Regions from separate parts of the Homo sapiens genome. Here region 2 is linked to region 1. Evidence: promoter capture Hi-C in 16 types of primary human blood cells and fetal thymus (Javierre and others, 2016). All regions are on one chromosome and are shown on one strand. The core of a region is centred on a gene start or on the middle of the fragment in contact, and the rest is flanking DNA. Distances in the headings are between cores, read along the strand shown.

Region 1 (4,067 bases), core at 74-2,573:
TTATCTGGCAGAGCTGTTTAGAGGATTAAATAATATATAGCACGCTCTTGGCCTTTTAGCCTCAACAAATACTACTTTTTTCCTTAATAATAACAGAAAGATCATACAACTTCACAAACCACAAGGACAGGCTGGCCGATAGGCAGGCCCCCCACGACTCTTCTGATGTTAGCCCTGACTGAACTCGCTGTGCAGCGTCCAACCAATCCTGGTTTGTGCTGGGCCCTGGACTGGAACCCAGCCCTTCCCGACGGGAACGCAAAGCGGCCACGAGGGGGCAGCGCACGGCAGGGAATCTTCGCCGCCGACCCCAGCCCACCGCCAAACTTCCCTGCTGCTCTCGGTCCTCCTGTACGTACTTCCGTTGCTCTGACGCTCCCAGAAGCCGGGGCGTCGGGAAGGAGAGCGCGAATTCACCCTCCTCTGCGCCTCCGTAGGAAAAAATTGGAGCGGGGGTTCACGAGACTGCGCCGCGGCGGGCGCTAGAGCCCCTCGCACAGCGTCGCCAAGGGTGCGGCGTGGAGCCGGGCGCCTGGCGCCAGGGTGCTGGTCGGCGGGCAGCGGCGCCAGCCTCCGACCCGCGACTCCGGCGAGCCAAGGCTGCGCCGGGAGGAGTCGGCGCGGGCCCCGGGGTGCCCCCTTCAACTGGAGCGCCTTCCCCTCCTGCCTTGCGGCGCATCCCCACACCTACACCGGAACGAAGCTCCGGGGCTGTCACTTCTGCGCGCTTCTCGGAAAGGAGTCTGAACTGGGAGCGCTCCGGGGGGTCGTCGGGGAGGATGCCCGGGCGTCGGCTGTGTCCCCAAGCTGCTCGCCGGCGCTGGCGAGGAAGGCAGTCGGGATAACGCCGCCCAAACTTTCCTTCGCAGCAGCGTTGGCAGGAAACGTCCCTCTCTGAGGCTCACGAAAAGCCGAAAAAGACTCGGACGCTTGGAGGAGGCAGGGCCAAGCCTGCGCAGGAGAGGTTCCCCGGAGCCCTGGAGATGTCCTAGGGGACCAGGCTAATCGCCGGCTTGCGCCCAAGCGAAGGGAAGTCCTGCAGGCACGGCGCCTCCTTCCCTGAGCCCCGCAGTGACCGTGACCTCCGCGCGCACCCCCGCGCACGTGCTCGCGGCCGAGGAAGAGGAACGGTCCTGCTGAATCCTCTGGAGGACAGCGACTAGCGAGCAGGCCAGGGGCGCATGGAGGTGCCGCGGGGGCGGTGCGGCTCGCCAGCTGCGCGGAGGAGCGTGCACGCCGCGCCCCGGCCTCCCCGGGGACCTGGCCGGCCGCTGCCCGCACTTCCTGCCGCTGGTCTCCCAGGCGCGAGCCGCCGCTTGCAGCACAGAACCCGTTGAGCTTCGTGCCCGGCAGCACCCCCGGTCCCCCGCGCGGGGCGGACTTGCGGCGGGACAGGTGTAGCCCGCAGCCGCAGGCGCTGCGCTCAGGACTGGGCGGGCTCGGCTGGCCGGTCCCCGCCACGCAGGCCGGTCCCCGCCACGCAGGCCGGTCGGTGAGCCACTTCGCACCGCCACAGCCCTAGCATCGGGCCACCAGCCGGGGTGAAGAAAGTCACGGCGGAGCCCGGCTCCCCAGTCCTGATGCTGGCTGCCGGTGGCGGGCTCCACGCCGGCCCCGGGACCTAGGCAGCCGCGCGAGACCGCTGCGGGCGCCTCCCCCATGCTGCTCGGAGCGTCCTGGCTGTGCGCATCCAAGGCGGCCGCCGCTGCTGCGCAGAGCGAGGGCGACGAGGACAGGCCAGGCGAGCGACGGCGGCGTCGGGCGGCGGCCACCGCCGCGGGGGCGGGCGAGGACATGGACGAGTCGTCGCTGCTGGACCTGCTGGAGTGCTCCGTGTGTCTGGAGCGCCTGGACACCACGGCCAAGGTGCTGCCATGCCAACACACTTTCTGCCGCCGCTGCCTGGAGAGCATCGTGTGCTCGCGCCACGAGCTGCGCTGCCCCGAGTGCCGCATCCTGGTGGGCTGCGGCGTGGACGAACTGCCCGCCAACATCTTGCTGGTGCGACTGCTGGACGGCATCCGTCAGCGGCCCCGCGCGGGCACCAGCCCCGGCGGCAGCCCGCCCGCGCGTCCCATCCCAGGCCAGAGTGCGGCCCCCACGCTCGCGGGCGGCGGGGGCGGCGCGGCAGGCAGCACCCCGGGTTCCCCGGTTTTCCTCTCCGCGGCCGCGGGCAGCACCGCCGGCAGTCTGCGGGAGCTGGCGACCAGCAGGACCGCGCCGGCGGCAAAGGTGAGTATCTGTCTCGGCGGAAGTGGCCACGGCACGTGGGAGTGTGTGGGTGGGTGCTTGGGCGTGGGGGGCAGTGATGAGGTGCGGAGGAGACCACGGGTGGTCCTGCGTTGGCCCACTCCGCTGTTGCTCTTCCTCCAACTTCGCTTGCTTGGTGGCGGCATCCGGCCCCTGGGCAGCTCGCCGCTTGTTCACGTGTGTCCCATCCTCCTGTGGAGTGGGCACGCCTTCCTGTCCCGTCGCTCACCCCCGATTCCTTGGCCGGACTTGTTACCCTGCCTCTTAAACTTAGCATCGCCCTTGCGTCTCCCTAGAAACGGGGACCTTCTTCCTCTGGGTCCCCAGACACTCCCTCTGCACACCCTGGGCCTGCCTAGAGAAAAGTTAGCCCTTAACGTTTCTGACAGGGCTCTGATGGCTGCTCTGGGAAGCCCGCGGGCCTCCTGCCTGCGGTGTGGCTAAGGAGGGGAGGGCAGAAGGCAGAGTGGGACTGGGGTTTGGAGGAATGCTTCTAGTAGTCTGGAAGGAGTTAATCTGGAGGCCCCAGGAGCCTTTTGACCCAGCCCTTTTGGACTTGGCAGTGTCTAACCAGAAGCCAAGGTCTTCTCCTGGGCTCCCAGGCAGGGTTGCATTCCCACGGGGGTCATTTATATTTATTATTATTATTTTTGGTACAGCCGCATTTTAGGGCCTTCGCTGCTTCTGTTTTAGACGAAAGATCTTCTCTGGATGGCTTCAATGATTTGGTTTTAAAAGCTTCTTACAGCTTCTTATTACACACCCTTGCCACCTTGTGAACAGTTACCAGGAGAGAGGGCATGGGATGCTGGTTTAAATGAGAAAAGAAAGGACCCGGGTTTTGTTAATTTCTTTAAATGGAGAAAAGCACTTAAATGTTAAAAAAAATACATTATCTATTGGAATAATCATTTGCTTTAGAAACACAACTTTATTCCTCTACTTTTGACCATTTAAGGAGTTGGTGATGCCTAGTCCTTCCACTATGTGTAATCCTGAAATGCTGGGAACATTCTAGCACCTGGATTAGGCAGTACTGCAAATCTCTAAGGTTAAGGTTAGGAACTTAAACCCTTGGATGTTGAGCTTGAGTTAAATGCCATACTTTGCTGCAATGGGTTTTTTTTTCTATGGATCAGGAAGAATGGGGACAGTCAAGGATAGTCACTGGGGGTCACTTGGGGGGCACTGCTGAAGGGGAATTTTTTTCTTTGGTTTTAATTGTGATTAAATCCAGCTAAATGCTTGCGTTAGAAATTTTCAAACTTTTCCTTCCTGGCCTTGCTGTTTTTGATGTAAGGTATTTATAATTAAATATCTTTATTTGCAGAATAAGTGGGTTACCTTCTTCTGTTCTGATAAATTATGTGATATTCGGAGCCCCGCTTCTAGTAAAACGCTGGGACATTCTGATGACCATCTGTTTACAGATGTCCTCTCAGTTTATCTTGGGGGACTTTGTGTTTGACCAGGAGGTTAGGAGGTAACCTCTGACATGTGACAGGCTGAAGCTTTGATGCCACTCCGGGAATTCTGTGGCATTTGTAGTACCTTTTAGAACTTGTCAAAGGGGTTGAAGCTTGGAACTTTTTAGTAGTGACATTTAGTATTAGCAGGAAATTGATGTTTTACTCACCATATGTTGAGACCCTTGGTTGACTTTCTTTATGGGTGCATAGTCATGTTCATGACTTTTTGTGTTTTTGGGATGTTTCTGGATGTTGTTTAATAGACGAGCACTTATTTAACTAATAAGCAGGAGTCCCGCATGGTGTATTCACACTACACTAGCACTATACTACCATGCTGGGATAATA
Region 2 (4,045 bases), core at 1-2,500, 840 kb before region 1:
GATACTGGCAGACACTTTAGTAGACTTAGGGACTTTAACTGCAGAGAAAATGTGAGGTTGCACTAAGAACTGTGAATCAGCCCTATGGGGCTGAAAATTGACAGCACTGGGATAAGTGGAACTGGAAAGAGAGCAGAAGTAGAAAAATAAAGTTCAGCCGGGCGCAGTGGCTTATGCCTGTAATCCCAGCACTTTGGGAGGTCAAGGCGGGCAGATCACCTGGGAGCAGGAGTTGGAGACTAGCCTGGCCAACATGGTGAGACCCCGTCTCTACTAAAAATACCAAAAAAAAATTAGCTGGGCATGGTGGCGCACGCCTGTAGTCCCAGCTACTCAGGAGGCTGAGACAGGAGAATCGCTTGAACCCGGGAGGCGGAGGTTGCAGTGAGCCAAGATTGCACCATTGCACTCCAGCCTGGGCAACAGGAGTGAAACACCATCTCAAAAAAAAAAAAAAAAAGAAAAAAGAAAGAAAAAGAAAGTTCAATTTATTGGGAAAAAAAGAGCCCTTTGGAAACAAGGAGGAAGAAGAAGTGTCGGCAAAGAAGCATTAGGAGGTTCAGGGTCAAAGAAGACAAGGAAAGCTTTGGCAAGAAGGGCAGATGGGGTGCAGAATTATGCTTCAATTCCAGAAAGGAAAGCACTGGGGTAGATACAAGGTTGGGGCTGGCAGAAGAGTAGCAGTTCAGAGATCATTAACACTTGATCCATTTAATTTCCCAGGTAACCAAAGACACCATGGAATATAATCTGCCTCCACTAAAGTGTACCTTTTGTACAATAAGGCAAAGAAAAAATAAGTACACACCTAAGCTCTAGACTTTTGTTCTATCCTCTCTGCATTTTCGGTGTGGATGAATACAACTTGGGAAGAAAGGAAAGAAGAACCAGCAGTTTTAAGCACTTACTATTTGCTCTGCAAAGTGTATTCATCAACATTGTTGCTTTCAATCTTAAAGCATGGATTGGAGACAGGCAGTATTACCCACACTTCATAGATGCAGAAATTAAATCTCAGGCTAAGGAGGAAGGAAAAGGGAGTTCACCAAATAAGCAGGAGCCTACCTGAAGCCTGATGCATCTGGTCCTAGAGCCAACCTTCCATTTCCCCCCAGCCCCCACCTGTTTAAGCTTCGAGGCCAGTGGGAGGAGGGAGGGGCCAGGCAGCTGAGGGCCAGGAAAGATGTGAAAAACTCTAGCTGGTGACCGAGAGGAGGAGTAGAGTGTGCCCTTAGTTCATATGAACTAGAGGGAGTTGGTATTTGCACAGCAGTCAGGGTCACATGAGTGATCATGGTACAGTGAGAAGTTCTCCCTCCCAGGGCCAGGTCACAGGGTTTGTTTCTGTTCAATCCGGATTCTTCCAGTAAAAGCTTCAACTTCCCACACTGAAGCTGAGAGCCTCCCAAAGTGCTGGCTACCTGCTGAGCGCCCCCGTAACTCTGACACAGTAGTAATTTGAGCCTCTGCAATTGCCGTCTGCTTCCTGTGAAAGTCCTTTCCGTGCCCACTGACCCTTGAGTGGGCCTTTGAGCTGCTGACTTTCAGCTGGAACTTGAAGGTAAGAATATGGCTTAAAAGAAATTCTGTACCTAACTCGTTAATTTATTTTTTAACCTTTAGCCACATAGGTGTGGCTTTACAGATGCATTTATTCAAACCAGAAAAGATCCTAAGAATCTGATAAAATAATATAAAAGAGTTTTGTTAACAGCCTCCAGCCTAAAAATTCAGACCTAGAAATTCAGGACCCCCCTCAAATCACCTCCAAAAGCTCTCTCTCCTGTAATACTATCTCTGTCTCCCACCCTGATCTTTTCCCAAATACCCTCCCTGTCCCATCCTCCTCCAGGGCCAGCTCAACTTCTCTGGCCAAGACTATTTCTTCTTCCATGACAGCCCTCCTCTTATGCCAGCCATTGACTAAGACACATGCTGGGCCTGCAAGGGGACTGAACCAGATCCTGTGCTCCAAGGGTCCAGACTTATAAGCAAGTAATTGTAGGACGTGGAGTAAGACCTATAAAATTTGCACACAAAATACTATAGGATCCCATGGAAAGGAGTGATTACTTCTGTTTACAGAGTCAGGGATGCCTCCACAAAGGAGGCCATAGTGATCTGGCCTGATATGATGAAAATGTCCCTGCTGGCTGCTCAAGGGGAAATGTATGTGTCTACATGCCTGACTCTCCAAGGGCAGGAACCATGTGCTGATGTGGCCCAGCAATGAGGGGCCTGGGGAGGGTGAGAAGGACTTGGGACTTCTCCTGTGGGAACTGGCAGATCCCTCTGCTCCCACTGCACTACCCAGCTGCCTCAATCTCTTGCTGCATCTCCTTCTCCCAGCTTTAGCCAGGTTCTATCACTCCCCGTGCAGGCCTCCAACAAGAGCAATACAGTGGGATCCATAGTTCACTGGACAGCCAAGCCCTTAACCGCCCTGGTCCTCAGCAGCAGCAGGTGCCCTTCCACACATGTTCACAGCTGTGCCCAGGCCCTCGGTCATCAGCTACCTGCCCAGAGCACAACGCCTACCACAGAGTTGGTCAATGTGTTGCGTGGATTATTCTCAGGGCATTAGTTCAAGGCCAGAGCCCTAAGCTCACATGTACACCTGCCTACAGGTGTACATTGGGAAGTCCCATAAATACATCAGACTCAACCCCAGAATTGGACTCACCATCCCCTCACCCCCACCCTATGGAGGACCTTCTCACTGTGTCCTTACATGGTCTTTCCTCCATGTGCACACATCCCTGGTGTTGCCTTGTGTGTCCTAATCTCCTCTCATTACAAGGATACCAGATTGGAATAGGTCTCATCCTAGCAGCCTCATTTTAACTTAATCACCTATTTAAAGACATTATCTCCAAATACAGCCACATGCTAATATACTATGAATTAGGACTTCAACATATGAACTTAGAGAGACACAATTCAAACCACGATAATGTCCGTCTTAGTCCATTTTATGTTGCTATAACAAAATACCTGAGGCTGGGTAATTTATAAATATAAGAGGTTTATTTTGAATCATGATTCTGGTGGCTGAAAAGTCCAAGAGCATGGTGCTGGCATCTGCTCAGCTTCTCGTGAGGGCCATGCTGCATCAAGACATGGTGAAGAAATAGAAAGGCAAGCAGGCATGTATAAAGGGACCAAACTCACCCACTTCTGGGAGATGGCATTAATCTACTCATGTGGAATCCACCCTTATGGCCCAAACACCTCTCACAAGACCCCGTGTCCTAGCACTGCCACACTGGCAGTTAAACTTCAACAGAGAGTTTTGGTGGGGACTAACCACATCCAAACCACAGCAGTATCCAAAAAGTGTTTTGTAGTTTTATGTTTATATATATGTATACTTTTTGTTCATAACTATGTATAAACAGTTTTCTATCACTATCACTGCCATAACAAATTATCAAAAATTTAGCAGCTTAAGACAATACAAGTTTATTATCTCACACCTCTGTAAGTCAGAAGTCCAAACAGGTGTCTCTGGGTAAAATCAAGGTGTTGGCAGGGCTGCGTTCCCTTCTGGAGGGTCTGAAGAAGAATCCCTTCCAAGCTCATTCTGGTTGTTGGCAGAATTCAGATTCATGTGGCTGTAGGATGGAGGTCCCATTTGCTTGTTGGCTGAGGTTCATTCTCAGCTTCTGGAGGTCATGCCTTGTCTTGTGTTCCCCTTTGTCTCTAAGCCATCAATGGCAAGTTGAGTCATTCTCATGCTTCCAAACTCTCCAGCCACTTCTTCTGCCACACGACTCTCTGACTGCTCTTCTACACCCTTGTCCACTTTTAAGTGCCCTTGTGGTCACATTAGACCCACCGGGATAATACAGGACATGCTCATTGCCTTAAGGTTCTTAACCTAAATTCCATCTGCAAAGCCCTTTGCCACACAATGTAATGTATTAGGAATTAGGACGTGGACATCTTTAGGGCCATTATTCTGCCTACAACAATATACATTTGAAAAAGACAGATAGAAATACATCAAAATAATAACAACTCTTGTGTGATAGATGTTTTCCTT

The links. Contacts are between HindIII fragments. The CHiCAGO score rates a contact against its expected background, and 5 or more counts as called.
Region 2: a contact is called between a fragment that was not itself captured here and the fragment with the promoter of SH3RF3 in region 1, in 4 of 17 cell types (erythroblasts, naive B cells, total B cells and 1 more). The highest score is 7.6, in erythroblasts.

Annotation. Positions count from the first base shown.
Region 1 is chr2:109,127,882-109,131,948 of GRCh38, forward strand. SH3RF3 (SH3 domain containing ring finger 3) reads left to right here and starts at 1,324. Exons shown (of 10, transcript NM_001099289.3): 1 at 1,324-2,232. The coding sequence starts at 1,660. It overlaps SH3RF3-AS1 (SH3RF3 antisense RNA 1), which reads right to left and starts at 2,238. Exons shown (of 1, transcript NR_029193.1): 1 at 1-2,238. It also overlaps a transcript of RANBP2 not described here. RefSeq lists silencers at 540-599, 980-1,049, 1,060-1,109, 1,140-1,339. The HindIII fragment of the contact is 8,501 bases long and covers 1-2,986 here.
Region 2 is chr2:108,287,510-108,291,554 of GRCh38, forward strand. SULT1C2 (sulfotransferase family 1C member 2) reads left to right here and starts at 1,386. Exons shown (of 8, transcript NM_001056.4): 1 at 1,386-1,561. The HindIII fragment of the contact is 242 bases long and covers 1,130-1,371 here.